Regions from separate parts of the Homo sapiens genome. Here region 1 is linked to region 2. The links are contacts of gene promoters, found by promoter capture Hi-C in human tissues and cell types (Jung and others, 2019). All regions are on one chromosome and are shown on one strand. The core of a region is centred on a gene start or on the middle of the fragment in contact, and the rest is flanking DNA. Distances in the headings are between cores, read along the strand shown.

Region 1 (4,328 bases), core at 1,465-3,964, 180 kb before region 2:
GCTTTTCCAGACAAAAACCCAAAAAGGGGCTAGATTGTCCCAGGGACACTGACTTAGGCTGCCAGAAGCCATGTTAAAGTTTGGTCAAGTCCCGTAGTGCAGGGGTTTGAATGGAGTGTTTGTGCCAAGAGTTTTATGCAGTCCTCAGTTCCCAAATGAGGAATCCCACCTCCTCAATGCAGAAGTCAGAACTCACATCTCCATACTCCCTTGTAGGTAGGATGCAGGCATTTGGCCAGGTTTTCTCTATATTCCTGGAAAAGGATACCAGGCTCAGGGAAAATGATCTTTAGGAAGGCCTGGTGGTGAAGATATAGGTATGTGGGGGCAGCAAGGCTGTTTCTGCCGAGGAGGCATATAACATTTGTGCAAATACTGCAAAGGGAGTTGCTCGAGCTCCTGGAATCGACTGCCACCAACAAAATGAAGCCTCGCTGCTAGGGTGATGCTGACGGGAACAGGGGCAAAAACGGTAAAAGAATAAATCCTTCTCCTTTCTCCAGCCTTTCAGTCTCCTTCAAGCACCCCTTACTTCCCTGTAAGCAAAGAAGAAATGCCAACCCAAGCCAAGAATAGAAGGGTGGGTTAAAAACTGAGAAGCAATAGCATAGTAACCAACACAGATCTGAAAAGTAGAGACGTCATATGCTTTTAGGTGTACATTATTTTGCTCACTGAAATAAATATGCTTATTTTCTTGATTTATCTCTTTTCTTGTGGGCCTAGCCTCTCTCCCTAAATGGATTTCTCCATTCCCATGGCTTTGGTCACCATCTCGGTGACCTGACCCCTAAATTTTTTTTTTGGTTTTTTTTTTGAGATGGAGTTTCACTCTTTCACCCAGGCTGGACTGAAGTGGCACGATCTTGGCTCACTGAAACCTCCACCTCCCCAGTTCAAGCAATTATCCTGCCTCAGCCCCCCGAGTAGCTGGGACTACAGGCACCCACCAACACACCTGGCTAATTTTTATATTTTTAGTAGAGACGGGGTTTTGCCATGTTGGCCAGTCTGGTCTCAAACTCCTGACCTCAGGTGATCCACCCACCTTGGCCTCCCAAAGTGCTGGGATTACAGGTGTGAGCCACCACGCCTGGCCAACCTGACTCCTACATTTCTATTTCTAAAGCAGATCTCTTTTCTGCACTGTAAGTCCTACACATCCAACTGCCTTCTCTGATCTTCTCCTCTTTGTCTCCCAGGTCCCTCAATCTTAACATGTCCAATCTTGGTCTCTTTTTGAGGCTTTGACTCCTGCAGTATTCCCTAGCTCCAGGAATGCACCCCCATTTCCCCCGTCTTATGCCAACACTGATGGTTACTCTTGGTCCCTCCTCTCTTGCTCATTTCTCACATTCACTGAGTACCAAGTTCCTTCTAAATGCTTGTGGATGTCTTCATTTCTCCCCATCTCCACTAGCCCTGCTCTGGTCCAAGCCACCATCCTCTCTTACCTGAGATGTTGGAGGAGCCCCCTAAGTCACTGCCTGCATTCACTTTTGCTCCCACTAGTGAAATCTTCTCAGTGATCTTTTTAAAATCTGGTCAGCCAGGTGCGGTGGCTCATGCCTGTAATCCTAGTGCTTTGGGAGGCCGAGGCAGGTGGATCACCTGAGGTCAGGAGTTCAAGACCAGCCTGGTCAACATGGCGAAATCCCATCCCTATTAAAAATACGAAATTAGCCAGGTGTGATGCCATATAGATGTAATCCCAGCTACTTGGGAGGCTGAGGCAGGAGAATTGCTTGTACCTGGGAGGAGGAGTTTGCAGTAAGCTGAAATCGCGCCATTGCACTGCAGCCTGGGCAACAAGAGCAAAACTCAATCTCAAAAAAAAAAAAGAAAAAGAAAAATCTGGTCATAACACTTCCATATTTAAAAACCCTCCAGTGGTTTCCCTCCACTCTCAGGATAAAGTCCAGAATCCTGACCACAGCTTGCCAGGCTCTGAATGGTCTGACTCTGCTTCCCAACCCATTGTATCCCCCAGACCATTTATACACTAGGCCACAGGTTTATTTTCAGTTATTTGAAAGCTTTATCTCTTTCCTGCCTTTGTATTAGGCTGGTGCAAAAGTAATGACAGTTTTTGCCATAATACATCTCCTTCCCTCTACCTCAATTTCACTTCCCATCTCCCAGACCCTTCACCTCACTATCTTCTACTCATCCTTCAAGTCTCAGCTTAAATGTCATTTCCTCAGAGAAGCCTTCCTGGATCTCACCACCATCATTGCCACTTGGGCTAGGTAAGGCATGTTTTTATAAGCTCTAATAGTGCCGTCTAATTCTTCTTGGCATTCATCATCTTTGTAATTGTTTATTTGCATAATTTGTTTAATGTGTCTTCTCATTACATTTAAGCCCCGTGAGGACAATGTTGGTCTTGTTCACTTCTACTATCTAGCTAGCATACCTCACAGTGCCAGGCACGTAACAGTGCCCAACAAATATTTGGTGAATGAACGAATGAGTGAGAAAAGATAATTACTTTGAGAGGCAGCATAGCATGGTAGAAGTCACATTGGAGTAGCAGCCACAGACCTGGGTTCTAACCCTGGTTTCATTTCCTGGGTAATCTTCAGCCGTAATACATTTCATTACGCTTCAGGGTCCTAGTCTTTAAAACAAAGGAATAATGGTCTCTGAGATTTCTTCAGTTTCCAAAATGCAATGAGTGTTACTTTTAGTGATGACCCAGTGACCGCATGAAAAGGTGTTTGTATGTTGACTCCAGTTCTGGAAGGGAGAGCAATACCTTTCCCCAGGCTCTCTGATTCGCCTTTCCCACATCCTCCCCATCTCACCACTTTTGGTTTGATTACGAAGTAGATATCCCTGTCATTACTATCAAACTTACAGTTGACCGATGTGTTTGGGAGATTAAGAAATGAAAGAAGTTGGCCAGGCGCGGTGGTTCACGCCTATAATCCCAGCACTTTGGGAGGCTGAGGTAGGTGGATCACTTGAGGTCAGGAGTTTAAGACCAGCCTGACCAACATGGTGAAACCCCATCTCTACTAAAAATACAAAATTAGCTGGGCATGGTGGCGTATGCCTGTAATCCCAGTTACCTGGGAGGCTGAAGCAGGGGAATTGCTTGAACCAGGGAGACGGAGGTTGCAGTGAACCAAGATTGCACCATTGCACACCAACCTAGGTGACAAGAGTGAAACTCCGTCTAAAATATAAATAAACAAATAAATAAAAACAAGAAATGAGAGAAGTTAAGGTGTGTCAAGCTTCCAGAAAAGACAGATAGCTTCCCCTCTCAGGCTTGAGAATTATAGGGTCAATTTAATGCAAGTCTCTGGAATGTTTCCCATCCTCATATGCTCTTGTGATGCTTCTATTGGGGAAAAGCCTGTTCAGATAGGAGCAGGGAATGGTGCTGAGGGCAGAAGCTGTCATGAATCCTCAGTTCACTCACTCACCATGGGCCCTGGGATGGGTTGGGGCTCGCTTGCATGTGGGTGTGTCAGGCATTCTGGGAATCCATGTCAAACAAAATCACTTCTCTACAACAGGAAGGTCTGAATCACAAGGCACTGACAAGTCGTTTAGTTTCCTCACCCTGCTCCCTTGAACTCTCCCATCCCCACTCCCCAACTCACCCCAGGGATCAGTGTACCTCCTATGCAAGTGGTGCCAGCTCCAGCCAGAAAGAGCTAGGTCCTAATACCTGCCACCCCCAGCACGCTCCCCTGGGCTACTCTTAGTCACAGACCATGCAGTTCGGGGTCTTAAAGGTCTTCTTCAAGACAGCACAATTATATTTAGAAGAACTGCAAAAAGCATTTGCCCCCAGAAATCCTGTGGCCCCATTGGATAACAATACTACCTATTCGAATGATGCCAGCAAGGACTCTCTTCTCACATTCAGGAAGGTAAGGAGGAAAAGTGTCAAAAAGATCACCCTGCAGACAAAAATATCACATTCCCACAAAATCTGAGCTGTAATGAGCTTCTTCAGAGAATTATACTTAATTGGTCACTTTTCTAAGGTGGAATGACTTGCCAGTTTGCTCAGCCTAGGGCAGACTAGCTGCGTAAGATTGTGTGCATTATTCAAGCAGAGAGTACCTGGTCTGGGGAGCTGAGAGCCAGCCCACACTGTATTTTTTCAAGCCATGTGTTTTGGGGACTGTGTCCTTCCACAGGCCAGGCCTTTTTCTAATTTGCACAAAGGTGTTATGTGAGCTATTGGTTGCTCTGGCCTAGGCCTCCAAATCTGGAAGGGATAATGACCATGTAAGGAAGAAGCACGGGTTCATATCATGCCTTGGGTCCTCTCCTTATTTTCACCTCCTGAAAAATGTTATCTTATT
Region 2 (4,260 bases), core at 1,624-4,123:
TGGGCCCAAGTGATCCTCCTACTTCAACCTCCCAAAGTGCTGAGATTACAAGCGTAAGCCACCGTGCCCAGCCCAACACATTTGTTAAATGAATGATTGAGACAGAGAAATAAAGACAAGTTGCTCCATTCTATCCAGGCCATCCCCATCTCCCCAGGGCCCAGCAGAGAGCCAGACTCAGGACGAGTTTCCTGCCTGCACTGGGCCTTACCTTTTTGTAGATGGATGATGTCAGGGAAGTTGGAGAGCAGGCCCTGGTAGAGAGACAGTGTGTCCAGCATCTGGAAGAGGTCATTCTTGGGCTGCTCAGCAAACATCTCCCCGATGGCTTCATAGGTACGGCCCGTGTGAGAAATGGCACTGTTGAGGGCCTCAGAGCAAAAGGGGGGGTCCATCTGGAAGGAATGACTGATGGCCTGGAAGGCACTGCCCAGCTTCTGGAATTCCTTGCGGAAGCCCCCCACATGTTTACGCACCAGCTCTGATGCCACAGTGCTGAGCTGCAGGACGCTGTCGTCCATCTTCTTACTGAAGGCCTTGAAAGTGTCCACGCGATCTTCCACGTCCTGCAAGTCCTGGTGCTCGGTGGGGATCTGGAAGGTGAGCAGGAAGCTGGCACCCACCATCTCATCCTTCTCCGCCCGGCGTTTGCCCATCTTCCACTGCTTGTCATCCAGGCAGCTGAGGAAATGCTGGAAGCCTTCGTACTGGGAGAGCACAGGGTGGCTGGTCATGTGGTCCATCCAGAGGATGAGTCTCCGCTTCCGCTTTTCGATGAAGTCCTCCTCGAAGCGGCCAGTGGCCTGCTTCTCAGGCAGGTGGGGCACCGAGATGACAGTGAACTTGTGTAGCAGGCGGTTATAGAGCCAGTCAAAGTGTTTGTAGCGCCGGTAGACGGGTGAGGCAGCATGGGTGGGTGTGAGCTTGTAGGAGATGTAGCTTTTGATGCCCTTGAATTTGGTCTGTTTTGTGGGGTCCTCCACAGAGCAGGCAAATGGGTGGGGATTGGCCTTCCACTGGGGGCCACGAGGGCCCATTTCAATGGAGTATGTCTCAGCGATCTTGGCCATCATGGGCACATCACCCAGGATGAAGGCCTCCACTCCAGAACGCACAAAGCATGAGAAACGGTTGAGGTTACGGCCCACCACACTGCCTCGCTTGGCAGATGCCAGGCTGTCCTGCCGCTCCAGTGGTGGCTTGGGCCGGAAGGCCATGTGCTGGCTGGGGTAGGCACCAGGGTAGGAGAGGTTGAGGGGAGGGTGCCCGTTGGTGCCCAGCCCACCAGCCCGTGGCTCCTCCACCACTGTGCATCCGTCGTCCCAGTCATCCCAGTCATCATCATCATCCTCCTCAAAGCTACCCTGGTTTGAGAGGAAGCCACTGCCCCCACCACTCCTAGCTGGGCTGGCCACACTGGGGCTGTTGTACAAGCTCACCTGGGCTCCGGGAGAGCCTGCAGGGCTGCTGGAGTAGTCAGCATGGTTGGTGCTGATGCCAGAACGGACGATCTCCACATAAGAGGCAGGAAAGAGCCCTGTCTCCCCACGGCTGTTCTGGCCCTGCAGCCAGCCATCCAGTGAGGTCTCGCTAAAGATGACCAGGTCCTCATCCTGCTGGATGCTGATTTCCTCCTTGTTCTCACTGTGAAAGTCATAGAGGGCTCGGCCTTTCAGTGCCATGGCTGGGCTGGGTGGTATAGAAAGATGGGAAGGAGAGGGTCCTGCCCAGACCGGGGATGCTCACAAGGCAGTCCAAGAATGCACTCGCAGCTGAATGGCGCTTACACAGTTCAATCTCTCAGGTCCTAAGGTGGGGTCTCAGCACCCACAGATGCTGTCCAGTCTCCCCCTCTTCAAAGCAATGTCCATGGCCCAGAAACTGCCCTATCAGGTCTCCGGGCATATGCTTGTGAGCAGGGAGGGCTCATGTCCACAGTCTCCTCCTCCCTTAGCAGCCTCTGGGGGGTTAGAGGGGAATCTCTCCTAACTCCTACTCCCAGAAGAAAAGTCAAGTGACCTGGAGAAATCTGCCCTGCGAGGGGAAAAATTCGACACTTTCCACTGGAACAACGTTCTAAAATAGAAGAGACTCACTCTGAAACCACCATTCCAGAAACCCGGGCAGGGCTCGGCTGTCCCTCTGGCTCCCAGATTCTTTTGGCGGCTCTCGCTTTGGGAGGCTCTCACATTCCTCTGCAGATCTGCCCCTTCCTCCTTCCTCCTCTTGCTCCTGGGCCACTGGGTTTTCAAAAATCCGGAAAATCCAAGAGGGGCAAGGAGAAAAGCAGCAGCCGCCTGAATCGAGTCCAAGGGTGGATGTGTCCGGCTTCACAACGAGCCAGGCCGGGAAAACAAGGACTGAGGCTTACACAACAGGCCGCCAACTCTTCGACCCCGGCTGCGCAGCCGGAGCCCCCGCCGGCTCGGGCGCCCTCTCCCCGCCCCAGAAGTGGCCAGCCCCAACCCCGGAGGAAGGAGGGGGCGCGACGAGGCTGTCGGGCGACTTCTAGCCACTCGCTGAGTGGTCTCTTTTGTTTGCCTAATTCCTCAGCAGTTTCTGAGCCTGACGCTGACCCTGCTCTGAATCCCAGGAACCCCGTCCAAAGGTAACCCCAGCAGAAACCGGTTCCTCACCCGGGACTTACGACCCCCGATCACCACCCTCGCGTGCACGCACACACTCAACAGTTTGGAGTTTGGAGAGTGAGCTCCGGCGAGCAGATGGCGCGGCCAGCCGTCTGTCCGTCCGTCCTCCTCTCCGCCCTGCGGGGCCCGGCCAGTGGGGGGCGGGCTGCGCCCCCAGCCTGCCTTCCCCGGCGCTCGCAGACCCTCCGCTCCGCCAGCGAGAAGGCAGCTCCAAAACAAAAAGGCGATTCCGGGAGGTGGCGTCCTGAGGAAGGAGGGGATCGCCAAAGGGGAGGTGAGGGGTGGGGAGAGGGAGGAGGGAGGGGGAAGCAGGCTGGAGAATCGGGCAAACTCCGCTGCACTTCCGTGCGTCCCGGCGGGGCAGGGACGGCCAGCTCCGCCCTCCCGCGGGCCCGGGGCGCTGCAGCCGAGCCCCCGCCTACTCCTCCGCGCGGCTTCCCAGCTGGCCAGCGCCCTCGCTCGCTGGCGCTCAGTCCGGGAGGCGAGAGGGAGGAAACGACCCGGGAACGAGGGGGCCCGAGAGCCTCCGGGGCTGGTCCCTGGGACCGCCACCTCCCCTCCTCTCCCTCCGCCTGTCCGCCCTCGCCGGGAGACACCTCACGCCCCCGTGGTTGGAGCGCCCGGCGGGGGAGCTTGCCAGCTGCCGCTGCCTCGCTTCCTGGACTCCGTCATCCTCCTGCCTTTTCCGTGACGCAAATGGAGTAAAACTCCGAAAGTTTGCAAAGCGTGGGGCTGCAAGGAGCACCGCGCCAGAGCCAGGATCGGGAGATCGGGGTGGGGGGAGGGGGGTGCGTGGAAAGCCGCCGCGCCAGCTGGGGTTGGGGAGCAGAGTCGCGGACTCGCCTTCCCACCTTCCCATTCCCCACTCCTGCTCCGCAGGGACGGGTCGTGGCGCAGCTCAGAGATTGTTTTCCGGAGGAACAGAAACGGCCTGCGCGTTCCAGGCGTCTGACCTAAGATACCGAGAGCTGCGGGTGCAGCACCCTAGCCAGACAGGGCGACCCTGCCCTGGGCGACTAGCTTGGAAGGAGGGAAAGACACTACTCTACATCTGCAGCGACAGGGAACAAGTCTAGGTGCCACCCGGTTCCGTGTTGCTTAGTACAGCAGCGGGGACTGGATGTTCTGTGCTAGCCAGCGGCAGCAAGGAGAGAAGTGGTCAGGTAGAGAATCTTCGAGAAGAGGCAAGTGGGATCTGACCCTCGGTCAGCATATCGGGAACACTTTGGGCATTGATTCTGCTAGGCACTGTGCTGGGCACTGGGGAGTAGTACACCACAAGGCAGTCGGGGTTTCTATCCTGGGGGGCTTACAGTCCACCCTCTCTTGTCTTTAATCAATCCATTCTGTCTCAGTCATTCATTCAGCCAAGTCATGCACTCAAGAAACATTAACTGAGTACCTACTCTGCACCAGGCCCCTGAGCTACAAAGACAAATAAGACATTATCCTTATTTTCCAAAAGCTCAGATATGTTGTGACAAGTAGACAAATGCTCCCTGCCCAGTGTGACTAGTTAGTGCCATGAAAAGTGCACATGAGGGTACCTACCCCAGCCTGGGTAGAGCAAGGATCAAGGAAAGCTTCCTGAAGGAGGAAGTGCCTAAGATGA

The links. The method cuts DNA at HindIII sites, captures the fragments that hold promoters and counts their contacts. A contact is called where the count stands out against the background at its distance.
Region 1: a contact is called between a fragment that was not itself captured here and the fragment with the promoter of SNX33 in region 2, in 2 of the 25 tissues and cell types used here (IMR-90 fibroblasts and lymphoblastoid cells).

What each region holds. Positions count from the first base shown.
Region 1 is chr15:75,827,071-75,831,398 of GRCh38, reverse strand. No RefSeq gene overlaps it. Among named protein-coding and RNA genes, the nearest start is that of UBE2Q2, 14 kb to the left of the region's middle. The HindIII fragment of the contact is 5,487 bases long and covers 1-4,328 here.
Region 2 is chr15:75,646,525-75,650,784 of GRCh38, reverse strand. It overlaps SNX33 (sorting nexin 33), which reads right to left and starts at 2,873. Exons shown (of 2, transcript NM_153271.2): 1 at 212-2,873. The coding sequence starts at 1,682. RefSeq lists an enhancer at 2,398-3,089 and a silencer at 2,715-3,254. The HindIII fragment of the contact is 33,754 bases long and covers 1-4,260 here.